Linked DNA regions of Homo sapiens: region 2 is linked to region 1. The links are contacts of gene promoters, found by promoter capture Hi-C in human tissues and cell types (Jung and others, 2019). All regions are on one chromosome and are shown on one strand. Each heading gives the region's core, a stretch centred on a gene start or on the middle of the fragment in contact. The rest is flanking DNA. Distances are from core to core; before and after follow the strand shown.

Evidence for each region. Contacts are between HindIII fragments. The study calls those that stand out against the background at their distance.
Region 2: the fragment with the promoter of FAM118A here is called in contact with the fragment with the promoter of PKDREJ in region 1 in 1 of the 25 tissues and cell types used here (dorsolateral prefrontal cortex).

The regions. Positions count from the first base shown.
Region 1 is chr22:46,260,686-46,267,597 of GRCh38, reverse strand. PKDREJ (polycystin family receptor for egg jelly) reads left to right here and starts at 4,255. Exons shown (of 1, transcript NM_006071.2): 1 at 4,255-6,912. The coding sequence starts at 4,276. The HindIII fragment of the contact is 11,288 bases long and covers 1-6,912 here.
Region 2 is chr22:45,307,114-45,314,025 of GRCh38, reverse strand. FAM118A (family with sequence similarity 118 member A) reads right to left here and starts at 4,092. Exons shown (of 9, transcript NM_017911.4): 1 at 3,843-4,092. RefSeq lists an enhancer at 2,222-3,030 and a silencer at 3,747-4,426. The HindIII fragment of the contact is 15,582 bases long and covers 176-6,912 here.

The sequences.
Region 1 (6,912 bases), core at 3,006-5,505:
AGCCACACACCAGCCCCAGTCCAATGGGCTCCCCTAGTTTAATTTGCCCCCGCCCCAGGGTGCACGAATCAAGGGCGTAGAACCAAGTGCACGGGCAGATCTGGCCTTTATTTAAAATGCTATTTTGTTCATCATGGACTTTTTGCATTAGTTTTGATTTTTGAAATATTGCACTGAAGTATTATTTGTTTTATGTGAGAGCTGTAAAGATAAAACTCTTAGAAGAAAACAGAAGTAAATCTTCATGGCCTTGGATTTAGCAATGGATTCTTAGATGTAACACCAAAAGGACAAGCAACAACAACAAAATAGATAAGTTGGACTTCGTCAAAATTAAAAACTTTTCTGAATCAAAGGACACTACTCAGGAAACTGAAAAGATTAACACAATGGGAAAAAACATTTGTAAATCATATATTGGGTAAGAGTCTAGAATCCAGAATACATAAAGAAATCTTGGCCGGGCACAGCAGCTCATGTCTGTAATCCCAGCCCTTTGGGAGGCTGAGTCAGGTGGATCACCTGAGGTCAGGAGTTCAAGACCAGCCTGGCCAACATGGTGAAACCTTATCTCTATTAAAAGTACAAAAATAGCCAGGCGTGGTGGTGCATGCCTGTAATCCCAACTACTTGGGTGGCTGAGGCAGGAGAATCGCTTGAACCCGGGAAGTGGAGGTTGGAGTAAGCCAAGATTGTGCCACTGCACTCCAACCTGGGCAACAGAGCCAGACTCTGTCTCAAAAAAAAAGAATTCTTACAACTCAACAGCGAAATGACAAACAGCCCAAATTTAAAGTGGGCAAAGAATTTGAGGTGACAGTTCTCCAAAGAAGACACACCTTTCCTACAGCGTTTTCAAGGTTCATTCATACTGAAGGAAGAGGCAGACACAAAAGGTAACACTTGTATTAGTGCATTTACATGCATGTCCAGAATACGCAAACATAGAGACAGAAAGAAGATTGGTGGTGACCAGGGACTGAGGGGATAGGGATGATAAGTCACTGAAGCCTTGAACTCCTGGCTCCAGCAATCCTCCCACCTCAGCCTCCCATAAATGGTTACTTTTATGTGAACTTTACCTCAATAAAAGAGAATTTGTCTTGATTATTGAGTTTTTGGTGCCCCTCCACCCTTAAATTTTGCACTTGAGCTGAGTACTAATATGGACTAATACAGTAAATTGGTACCATTAGAGTGGGGTGTTGCCAAAAATATACCTGAAAATGTGGAAGCAACTTTGGAACTGGGTAACAGGCAGAGGTTGGAACAGTTTGGAGGGCTCAGAAGACAGGAGTATGTGGGAAATTTTGGAACTTCCCAGATACTTGTTGAATGGCTTTGCCCAAAATGCTGATAGTGATATGGACAATAAGGTACAGGCTGAGGTGGTCTCAGATGGGGATGAGGAACTGGAGCAAAGGTGATGCTTGTTATGTTTTAGCAAAGAGACTGGCAGCATTTTGCCCCTGCCCTAGAGATTTGTGGGACTTTGAACTTGAAAGAGATGATTTAGGGTATCTGGCAGAAGAAATTTCTAAGCAGCAAAGCATTCAAGAAGTGACTTGGATGCTGTTAAAAGCATTCGGTTTTAAAAGGGAAACAGAGCATAAAAGTTTGAAAAATTTGCAGACCGAAAATGTGATAGAAAATTCCATTTTCTGAGGAGAATTCAAACCAGCTGCAGAAATTTGTATAAATAACAAGCAGCCAAATGTTAATCCCCAAGACAATGGGGAAAAGGTCTCCAGGGCATGTCAGACGTCTTCATGGCAGCCCCTCCCATCACAGGCCTGGAGGCCCAGGAGGAAAAAGTGGTTTTGTGGGCTGGGCCCAGGGTCCCCAAGCTGTGTGCAGCCTAGGGATTTGGTGCCCTGTGTCCCAGCTGCTCCAGCTGTGGCTGAAAAAGGCCAATGTAGAGCTCGGGCTGTGGCTTCAGAGATTGCAAGCCCCAAGCCTTGGCAGCTTCCATGTGGTGTTGAGCCTGCAGTTGCACAGAAGTCAAGAATTGAGGTTTGGGAACCTCTGCCTAGATTTCAGAAGATATATGGCAACACCTGGATGCCAGGCAGAAGTTTACTGTAGGGGGAAGGCTCTCATGGAGAACCTGTGCTAGGGCAGTGTGGAAGGGAAATGTAGGGTTAGAGCCCCCACACAGAGTCCCTACTGGGGCACCGCCTAGTGGAGCTGTGAGAAGAGGGCCACCATCCTCCAGACCCTAGAATGGTAGATTCACCAACAGCTTGCACCATGAGTCTAGAAAAGCTGCAGACACTCAACACCAGCCCACGAAGGCAACCAGGAGGGAGGCTGTACCCTGCAAAGCCACAGGGGCGGAGCTGCCCAAGACCATAGGAACCCACCTCTTGCATCAGCATGAGCTGGATTTGAGACATGAAGTCAAAGGAGATAATTTTGGAGCTTTAGGATTTGACTGCCCCACTGGATTTCAGACTTGCATGGGCCCTATAACTCCTTTGTTTGGCCAATTTCTCCCATTTGGAATGGTTGTCTTTACCCAATGTCTGTACCCCACTGTATCTAGGAAATAACTAACTTGCTTTTGATTTTTTTTCTGTTTTTTGAGACAGAGTTTCGTTCCTGTTGCCCAGGCTGGAGTGCAATGACACGATCTTGGCTCACCGCAACCTCTGCTTCCCGGGTTCAAGCGATTCTCCTGCCTCAGCCTCCCGAGTAGCTGGGATTACAGGCATGCACCACCACACCCGGCTAATTTTGTATTTTTAGTAGAGATGGGGTTTCTCCATGTTGGTCAGGCTGGTCTCAAACTCCCAAGCTCAGGTGATCTGCCCGCTTCAGCCTCCCGAAGTGCTGGGATTACAGGGTGAGCCACTGCGCCCAGCCAGTTGCTTTTGATTTTACAGGCTCATAAGCATAAGCGACTTCCTTTGTCTCAGACAGGACTTTGGACTGTGGACTTTTGAGTTAATGTGAAATGAGTTAAGACTTTGGAGGACTGTTGGGAAGGCATGATTGGTTTTGAAATGTGAGGAGATGAGATTTGGCAGGGGTGGAATGATATAGTTTGGCTCTGTGTCCCCACCCAAATCTCATCTTATAGTCCCATAATTCCCACATGTTGTGGGAGGGACCGGGTGGGAGATAACTGAATCACAGGGGCAGTTTCCCCCATATTGTTCTGTGGTAGTGAATAAGTCTCAGGAGATCTGATGCTTTTATCAGGGGTTTCCGCTTTTGCGTCTTCCTCATTTTCTCTTGCCACTGCCATGCAAGAAGTGCTTTTTGCCTCCTGCCATGATTCTGAGGCCTCCCCAGCCATATGGAACTGTAAGTCCAATTAAACCTCTTTTTCTTCCCAGTCTTGGTTATGTCTTTATCAGCAGCATGAAAACGGACTAATACAGGGGAGGGCCAATTAAGACCACGAGTTTGAGACCAGCCTGTGAAACACAGCAAGACACCATCTCTACAAAAATAAAAAATAAATCAGTCAGGTGTAGTGGTGTAGACCTGTAGTATGGGAGGCTGAGGCAGGAGGATTCCTTGAGCCCAGGAGTTCAAGGTTACAGTCAGCTATGATTGCACCATTGCACTCCAGCCTGGGCAACAGAGCAAGACCCTGTCTCTAAAATCATTCAATCCATCAATCAAGTCCCAAAATATACAGCAAAAATGGACAGAGTTAAAGAATGAGGCCAGGCACAGTGGCTCATGCCTGTAATCCCAGCACTTTGGGAGGCCGAGGTGGGTGGATCACTTGAGGTCAAGCCATTGCACTCCAGCCTGGGTGACAGAGACTCCGTCTCAAAAAACAAACAAACAAACAAACAAACAAAAAACAAAACCCCCAAACCAACTAGAAAGAAAAGAGCAAAGCGACCCCAAAGTAAGAAACCGAGAGTCAGACCTTCCTGGGCGCCCAGGGATCTCACGGTTCCCTCCTGATCTCCCATTTTGTGACTGGCTTTCCCAAGGGTTCCTGCTGAAGCCCCTTCTCCGTGGTCAGCTCTGTGGTCTGCACGGGGCTGAACTGCCCTCCTGAGCCATCCTGACCCTGGGCCTGCACACACTTGGGGACGGAGAGGGAAGAGGTACCCAAGAAGTCCCCAGTGCCGACTGACCCCAAGCTCCGAGGTCCCAGCTGCTCTCTGGGACTCTGTCCCTGGGACCCCTCTGCCAGCGCCCTTCGACGCCCGAGACCCCCACTGTCCCCAAGACCCTCACTATCCCCGCGACCCCGGTGGCGGTTGGGCGCGCCTCGCGGCCTCTCCCAGCTTCTCCTGGGCCGGCGCCATGAGGCCTGGGCCCGCTCTCCTCCTTCTGGGCGTGGGCCTGAGCCTGAGCGTCGGCCGCCTCCCGCTGCCGCCGGTTCCTCGCGGGGCACAAGCCGCCGTCTCCGGGGCGCCCGGTGGCCTCCTCAGGGGCGCCCCGGGCCTCGGGGTGCGCGGCGGCCGCGCCCTCCTCAGTCTGCGGCCCAGCGCGGTGCGGGCGGGCGGCGCTGTCCTGAGCGGCCGCGGCAGCCTCTGCTTCCCCCATGGCGGGACCGGGCGGCGCTGGTACTGCCTCGACTTGCGCGTCCTGCTCAGCGCCCAACGCCTGCCCTGGCCGGCCGCGCCCGCGCTCGCGCTCGTCGACCTGCAGCTCTCCGCGCGCGGCGGCCGCCTCTCCCTGACGTGGTCCGTGCGGCTGCCGCGCTCGCCCGGGCGCCTGGCCTGGGCCTTCCGCCTGCGGCTGCTCGGACCCGGCGCCGCCCGCCCGGCCTCCCCCGCGGCCCGCGTCTCCCCGCGCTCCGCCGCGCCAGGCCCGCGGCCCCAGCAGGGCTTCGTGGCCCGCACCGAGTGCCCCACAGACGGCCCCGCGCGCGTGATGTTGCAGGCCGTCAACTCGTCCAGCCACAGAGCCGTCGAGTCGTCCGTGTCCTGTCAGATAAACGCCTGCGTCATCCAGCGCGTGAGGATCAACACGGACCAGAAGGGCGCCCCCGTGCGCCTGAGCATGCAGGCGGAGGCCACCATCAACGCCTCGGTGCAGCTGGACTGCCCGGCCGCGCGCGCCATCGCCCAGTACTGGCAGGTGTTCTCCGTGCCCGCCGTGGGTCAGGCGCCCGACTGGACGCAGCCCTTGGATCTGCCCCAGCTCGAGATCAGGAACAGCCCCTTGTTCATTCACATCCCCAATAATTCGTTACAGTGGGGAGTGTATGTGTTTAATTTCACGGTGTCCATCACCACAGGGAACCCCAAGATGCCCGAGGTGAAAGACTCGGACGCCGTCTATGTCTGGATCGTCAGGAGTTCCCTGCAGGCGGTGATGCTTGGCGATGCCAACATAACAGCTAATTTCACAGAGCAGCTGATTCTGGACGGGTCCACGTCCTCGGACCCAGATGCGGACAGCCCGTTACAGGGACTCCAGTTCTTTTGGTACTGTACCACAGATCCCAGAAACTACGGTGGGGATCGAATAATCCTGGGGAGCAAGGAAGTCTGTCACCCCGAGCAGGCCAATCTGAAATGGCCCTGGGCCTCGGGCCCTGTACTGACACTTTTGCCAGAAACACTTAAAGGCGACCACGTGTATTTCTTCAGAATGGTGATTCGGAAGGACTCTAGGACAGCGTTTTCTGATAAGAGGGTCCACGTGCTCCAAGGACCAAAAGCCATAGCACACATCACATGTATCGAAAATTGTGAGAGAAACTTCATTGTCTCTGATAGATTTTCTTTGTTCCTAAATTGCACAAATTGTGCAAGCCGTGATTTCTATAAATGGTCAATTTTGTCTTCTTCAGGTGGTGAGATGCTATTTGATTGGATGGGGGAAACTGTAACAGGAAGGAATGGTGCTTATCTGTCTATAAAAGCTTTTGCTTTTCGGCATTTTTTGGAAGCTGAGTTTTCGATTTCTCTGTATCTAGCATGTTGGAGTGGAGTGACCTCGGTCTTCAGGCATTCTTTTATTATTAACCATGGCCCTCAGATCGGAGAATGCAAAATTAATCCAGCTAAAGGAATTGCACTTATTACTAAATTTGTTGTCCAGTGTAGTAATTTTAGGGATAAGCACGTCCCTCTTACATATAAAATAATTGTTTCTGATTTGCACAGTGTTGGTGAAATCAGTTCAGTAAAAGAGAACACCCTGGGGACCATCCTGTACTTGGGGCCTCAGTCCACAGTACCCCCTTCCTTTCTCCCTGTTGGTATGTTGGCTAGTCAATATGGCTTGAAGATATATGCCCAGGTCTATGATTCTCTAGGAGCTTTTTCTCAGGTGACTTTGCATGCCACCGCACAGGCTCCCACTGACAAAAATTCATCAAAGACAGTGTTGAATCAGTTACTCAGTTTCACCGTGGGACCAAGTTCATTGCTGTCTACTTTGATTCAAAAGAAGGATTTTTTACCTGCAGGTTACTTACTGTATATAGTAGCTTCCGTTTTGAATAACATGAAAACTGAATTACCTCTCCGAGATGACAGAGTCAATCTCCGAAAACACCTCATCGATCAGTCTTTCCTTCTTCCTGTAAGCACTTTGGTAGAAATTGGCCAGGTAGTCATGACTATTACCAAATTAACCCAGAAACCCTCTGAATTCACTTGGGATGCTCAGAAACGTGCCACCATGAGGGTATGGCAAGCAAATCAAGCCCTACAAGAGTATCAGCAAAAAGATAAACGCTTTCGATCTGAACAAATAGAAATCGTGAGTACTGGAATACTAATGAGTTTGTCTAATATTCTTAAAATGACTTCTCCTCACCAAGTAGTTAAAGATCCTTTCTATGTAATAGAATCTCTATCAGACACAATACTGGCTAATAAAGTGCCAGGGAACAAAACCACCTCAATGAGAACCCCCAATTTCAACATGTATGTCAAGAAAGTTGAAAAGTGGGGTATCAACCAGCTCTTCAGAAATGAGAAA
Region 2 (6,912 bases), core at 2,843-5,342, 950 kb after region 1:
ATTTACTTTTTCTACAAAGGAAAGAATATCTTATACCTCCTAAGGTTGCTGGAAGCATTAAATGGAATAAAAGAACAAAGCCTGGAACAGTGTGCTTCCTACTACACCCTAGATGTGTGATAGGGAATCCTTCCTAGATTTAATTAAAATTAAAGCTAAATAAAATTAAACAGCTGCGTCACATTAGTCATATTTTCAGTGTTCGGCGGCCACAAGCGGCCAGTGTGTACTGGACAACAGTCATTACATTTTGGTTACCACAGGAAGTTCCATTGTGCAGTTATCCCTGAGTCTGTCTCTCCCTCACCTAAGCCCAGACTTCAACAAACAAGTCCTGTAGATTTTTCTTCCTAAATCTGTTTAATCCATACCGTCTGCCACAGTCTTAAAGCCCTCACAACTTGGCTGGGAGTGGTGGCTCACACCTGTAATCCCAGCACTTTGGGAGGCCGAGGCGAATGGATCACCTGAGGTTGGGAGTTTAAGACCAGCCTGGCCAACATAGTGAAACCCCGTCTCTACTAAAAATACAAAAAGTAGCTGGGCAAGGTGGCAGGCGCCTGTAATCCCAGCTACTTGGGAGGCTGAGGCAGGAGAATCGCTTGAATCTGGGAGGCAGAGGTTGCAGTGAGCCGAGATCGCACCATTGCACTCCAGCCCTGGCAACAAGAGCAAAACTCCATCTCAAAAAAAAAAAAAAAAAAAACCCTCACGACATGTCTGACACTGAAAGGCACCTGCTTCCAGTTCCAGCCCCTCTAGTCCTCTAGTCCCACATAGTCACCAGAGGGAAATTTCTGACACATCTGAACTTGTCTCCCCTCCAACAGCTTTGCATTTTGTTGAAATCTCTACTTGGTCTTCATCCTGTTTCCCGTCTTACTACTCCTAGAATCCCTGGAATCTCCAAAGTGCTGTCATTTTGTATGCTAATGAGCTGATTGACGCAGATAGGCCCTGGGCAGCTTCAGAAGGGGGCTTATCACCAGAAAGACCAAGGCAGGATTAGATCCTTGGAACTTTCAGCCCCACCCACTAACCTGGGGAAGAGAGGGCTAAAGATTACGTTGATCACCAAAGGCCAATGGTTTAATTAAGCATGCCTACATGCTTAAGTCGTCTCCATAAAAGGCATAAAAGGGCTGGGTTCTGAGAGCTTCCTGAGAGATAAATACAAACATGCCGAAGTTTCTGGAGAATGGTACACCCCGGGGAGGGCACAGAAGCTCTGCACAGCATCCCCCACGCCTCACCCTACGCATCTTCTCATCTGTGTCCTTTGCGATATCTTTCATAACAAACCAGTAAACCTGAGTGTTTCCCTGAGTTCTGTGAGCTGTTCCATAGCAATTTTGAGACAGTCTTGCTCTGTCTCCCAGGCTGGAATGCAGTGTCAAAATCTCAGCTCATTGCAACCTCAGCCTTCCGGGTTCAAGGGATTCTCGTGCCTCAGCCTCCTGAGTAGCTGAGATTACAGGTGCACACCACCATGCCCAGCTAATTTTTTGTATTTTTAGTAGAGATGGGGTTCTGCTATGTTGGCCAGGCTGGTCTCGAACTGCCGACCTCAGATGATCTACCCTCCTCGGCCTACCAAAGTGCTAGGATTACAGGCGTGAGCCACCGCGACTGGCAAATTAATCAAACCTAAGGAAGGGTCATGGGAACCCCAACTTGAAGCTGATCGATCAGAAGTTCCAGAGGCTCAGGCTTGTGACTGGTGTCCGAAGGGGTGGAGGGCAGTCTTGGGGGACTGAGCCCTCAACTTGCGAGATTTGATGCTATCTCCAGGTAGTATCAGAACTGAATTGGAAGATACCCAGTTGGTGTCTCTTGCACAAATGACTGCCCGCTTGGTGGCAGGGAGAAACCTCTCCTCACATTTGGTCACAGAAGACATCTCTGTTGATTGTCGTTGAGTGAGATAATAGAAAAAGCACGATGGGTGGTTTTTCCACACACAGGTTCTCTTCAGGACCCCTAGCCCAGCATGGTCCTGGCCCACCTCTGAGACTCAGCCTCTCCCCACCCTGCCCCACTGCGTCCTGTGTGGTCATTAGACTATGGTGAAGCACACACACACAGTCACCATGAAGCACTAAGGCGACCACAGACCCTACGGTAATAGGACAAAAACCTCACTTAAAGTTCAGACCCCAGGCTCAGACAGGAAAGAGCGGGAACCAGTCTTCTGGGCCTGGGCTTTCAGAAGCTTAGCCCCGTTCCAGAAAGCCACAGTCCCCCACTACCACCGCCTTGGTCCAGGTCACCCCCATCTCTCATAGGGTCTTGCTTCCTCCAAAAAAGTCTCCCCACCACAGCCACATGGATGGTTCAAAAACACACCAACTCCCGCCCCTCTCCTCCCAAAGCCCTTCAATGGCCACCCACTCCCTTTAAGTACCAAACCCTCCACTCAGCTTAAACTGGGCATGCTTTGGTCCTGACTGGCTCTCAGAATCACACCCTCTTTCTTGTCACTCCCACCTCAAACCCAGTACTCTGCAAAAGTCCCAGCTTCTCCCATACCAGGTCTCTAGCGAGACACTTCCCTCACTTCTCCCCCTGACCACCTCCCACCTTCCTTCAGCTCAGCTGGATCATTTCTCAGGACAATGGCAGGTGCAGTCGTTCAAGAAAGGGCCAAGGGCACGGTGGGCCTCCGGGAGCAAAGCTGGGTTCTCCGCAGTTAGCATTCACTCCCACGCCACCTTCATTAGGTGTGCTCCAGCCACACCTCCCGCCTTCCAACACTGTGTGCCGTGGCAGCCTCTCTGCCTTTTGACATACTGGCTGTCCCCTGAAACTCTGCCTGGAATGACCCTGGCAAACTTCTCCTCTAGCTCAACCTTCAAGAATCAGCTCACCTGCTGCTTAGCATCTCCTCCCCACGACTCCTAAGACGCCCTCCTTAACACCCACCCCTTCCCAGAATCCCATGCCCACCCAGATGGGTTCCCTGCCAGCGACGACACAGCTTCCTCCAGATAAAAACGACCTACTTGTCTTATGCCCCAGGTCCCTAGGCCCTGACAGCAGGGACCGTCTCATCTCTATTTCCAGTGTCAATTCCTGGAGCCTATCAGGCATTCAAAAACAAAATGTTAGTTCCTTGAATGAAAAAATTAAGGAGGAGACAACCTAAAAGCGTCCCCATGTGCCCTAACTCGCTCCCTCCCCGGTTCGGCCGCCCTCGGCCACCTCAGGTCTCCTGCTCTATAGACTGTCCTGTGGGGCCACCTGAGTCTCAGCAGAACATTAAAACTTAAACCCGGCCCTGCACCTGCAGGCGCGGGGACCACAGCTTAGGAGGTGGTCGTCGGGCGCGCTGTTACCGTCTTAAGTTATCACCAGACCTGGGAACACTTCCACCCACGCCCCGCAGGTCCAGGGACCTCAAGTTGGAGAAACCTAGCCCTGAGATCAGGTCGGAGAGGGAGCCTCAGGGTGGGCGGCACGGGGACCCGGGGTCTCGCGGGGCTAAGGACACTGGGAACCACGGCTCCCCACAGGAAGATGCCCCGGGCCTGGGGGCTTCTGAGGAGGTTGCTGGAAGCAAGTCCCAAGGGAACCTCGAGAGTTTCCGGAACCAACAGTTCTCAGGGCCCACTAGCGGCCGGGGTCCTCAGGGGGTCTCGGAGTCCAGAGAAAATCTTGGAGTTTCGGGGTTCGCGGGCCTGGAGGGGCAGGGCGGATCCTGAGGGGGTCTCGGGGGCAGGGGCTCCAGGGGAAGAGCTGAGAGGGAGTCCTGGGGTGGCCCCGGGGCCGGGGCGGATCCTGAGGATCTCGGGGTCCCCAGGGGCTCCGGATGCAGGGACCGCGGGCCCGCCCCGCCCCCTCACCTGCGGCGCCTCCGAGACGCTGGTCCCAGCTCGCGCTGCCACCTCTTCGCCTCCGCAGCCGGCTACGCCTCCGGGGTCTCTCGGCGGCCGCGCACCCCTGACGCTGGGCGGGGCAAGGGGATGGTTCTCGGGGAGGGGACTGCGCAGGCACGCGGGCTAGAAGCGAGAGCGAGAGCCGGAGTCGGAGCCAGAGCGGACGCCACGCCGCCTCCAGGCGCCCCTCCGCGTTAGCCGGCAGCGGCGCCGCCGCAAACCCTTCCCCCGCGCGCCCGCCCCAGCCGCGTGAACGTTCCGTCCCGAAACCAACGGCCCCGCGGTCCCCGGAGGCCCCGCCCCGGGGAAGGGCGAAGCCAGGACGCGCGCCCCGCCCCGCCCCGCCGCCAGATCCTCTGGCACCGCCCACCTCGGTGACCACGGTCCCGCCCACCGGGGAGGCCACGCCCCCGGGGTCTCCAGCGCAGGCGCGGTCGGATGTGCGGGGGAGGGCTTGCGCTGGGGAGCGCTTGGGCCTAGAGTCCGCGTCCTAGCCCTACCTGGCCCGGCGAGCCGCGCGTCCCGTTTCCTCATTTGCAGAAAGGGGGCGGGAGCACTTTGCAGGGACGTGGCGAGCATCAAGTGCGATCGGAAGCGCTCCTTTGCAACTGCATCCTGCACCACACTTAGGCACAGCTTCTGTCCCCAACCCAGACCTGAGGCTGGTCTCCGTCCCCCAGCAGACTCCTGCCCGCTTAAATTGGCCAGTCACCAGCCCTACCTTCTTTCTTTTTCAGAGTACTTGTCACTCTCCGAAATTAGGTACGCTTGTGACTGGCTCCCACTTCCCCTGAGAGCCGGTACCTTGTCCGTCTTGTCCACTGGGGGTTCCCAGAAGCCAGCACGGCGCTGGGCACACCATGGCCGCCCACATGTTTGTGCGTGCGTGAGTGTCTTCCCCGCGCTCTTCCCTCATCAAGAAATACTCTTCCCCGAGGCTGAGAATTTCTCCTAAAAATACAAGAAATACTCTTCCCCAGCTTAGGTTCGATCCGGCGAGGCCCCCTGACTCCTCGCGCATCCCTGTCGCAGGTGCCGCGTCCGTAAAGGGTGTGATCCTAGCACCTACCTTGTGGGTATTGCGAGGACTGAGATTGTGCGTGGGTGGGCTGGGCACGGGCCCCCTAGCGATCTTATTACTCCTCCTTTGTCTGCCACTGAAGTCTTTTACCTAAACAAGACCCAATCCACTTCCTCTTCCCAGCCTGCCCTGCCCAACCTGGAGTCATTTATTACTTCCTGTCTCCTTGGCACCTTTTTTTCCTGCCTGATTTTAAAGTTGGCTGTTAATATCTCCCCCTACCCTAGCCCACCAGAAAGCTCTCATTTTGTGACAGAAGGTAGTGTTGTGTTAGCGGCCTGTGAAATTTTAGGGGGGGCCAGAGCCCAGAAAACAGTGGGAGCAGTGACTCTGGGATGAAGAGGGCAGCCCCTGGGTGCTCTGTATGTGGGGTCAGGCACTCCCTGAGCACTTTGCATGCGTTCCTTCATGGTGTTCTTGGAACAACCCTATGAGGAAGGCGTCTTCATTGTTATTCCAGTTTAACAAGGGGAAGCTCAGGCCCAAGAGGTTGTGTAGTTCCATGCCTCAGCCCACACATGTAACCACCACTGCATACAGCTCCCCAACCCCTGGAGGTGCGACTTAAATGCAAAAAAAGGCCGGTGGCTCACGCCTGTAATCTCAGCACTTTGGGAGGCTGAGGCAGGTGGATCACCTGAAGTCAGCAGTTCCAGACCAGCCTGGGCAACCTGGCAAAACCTCATCTCTACTGAAAATACAAAAATTAGCCGGGCGTGGTGGCGGACACCTGTAATCCCAGCTACTCGGGAGGCTGAGGCAGGAGAATCACTTGAACCCGGGTGGCAGAGGCAGCAGTGAGCTGAGATCATGCCACTTCACTCCAGCCCGGGCAACAGAGCGAGACTCTGTCTCAAAAAAAATTTTTTTTAATGCAAAAGATATATAATTCAGTTCATGAACACCTGCTCCTGTACTGGGTGCTGAAGCCCGAGACCTGTGGGAGATGTGGCCCCTTCCCTCATGGAGCTCCCAGGCCCCAGCAAGGATTTTGATTAACAGGACCTTATGGGCTGGGTGCTGCCGAGGTCAGTCAGACCCAAGACTCTGCGCAGGGCATCCTCTGAGGGGTGGTGGGACCAAAGCAATCGTAACCTCCAGCCACATTCAGCACCATCTGAGATAGGCTGGGAGCCTCAGCCCCTCCACCCAAAAACTCAGCCAGTCAGCCTTACAAGAGCAAGGACAGCAGGAAGGATGCCTCAGGAACAAGGGCTCCCCTTTTCCCCACATCTGAGAGAAACACAGCTTTTTCTCAGGTTGTGGAAAATTACTGAGAGACACTGCCCCCTGGGCACCTTGACCATTCTGAGTAGATAAGGGGGCAGATATGGCAGGTTGGCAAGAGGTCAGCGTGGTGCTGATGTGTGGGTGTGACACATCACTGGGCACTGTGGGGTGTCCGTGTCTGTCCCAGCCTCCACGCAGCCGACGTGAGCACAGCTCACACTAATGAAGATGTATGTGCACAGCAAGCCTTGTCGTCAGGAGCCCAGCGACCAGACCTAGTCCATATCTTTCCTTTTTAAAAGTTTTCAAATTAAAATATATTTTTTAAATTTTTAATTATTTTTCATGGAGACAGAGTCTCACCATGTCTCCACCAGTCCAGGCTGGTCTTGAACTCCTGGGCTCAAGTGATCCTCCCACCTCAGCCTCCCAAAGTGCTGGGATTACAGGCATGAGCCACCGCATCCAGCCCAGACTCAATCTATTTGTGTATTGAGGGTATCTTGAGGGGCGTTGGTGCATTTGGAATGTACATACCTGTGTGTGGGCATATACACTACTGTGAATTGAGCACCTACTGTGTGTCAGGCGCTATTCTAAGCTCTTCATAGGCATACCTTTCCTCACTGTCGCTGCCACCCTGCGTGGTAGGTGTTATTAATCTCCTTTAACAGACCAAAAAACAGGCTCAGAGGCGTTAGAGCAACTAGTCCGAGCTGGTAAGTG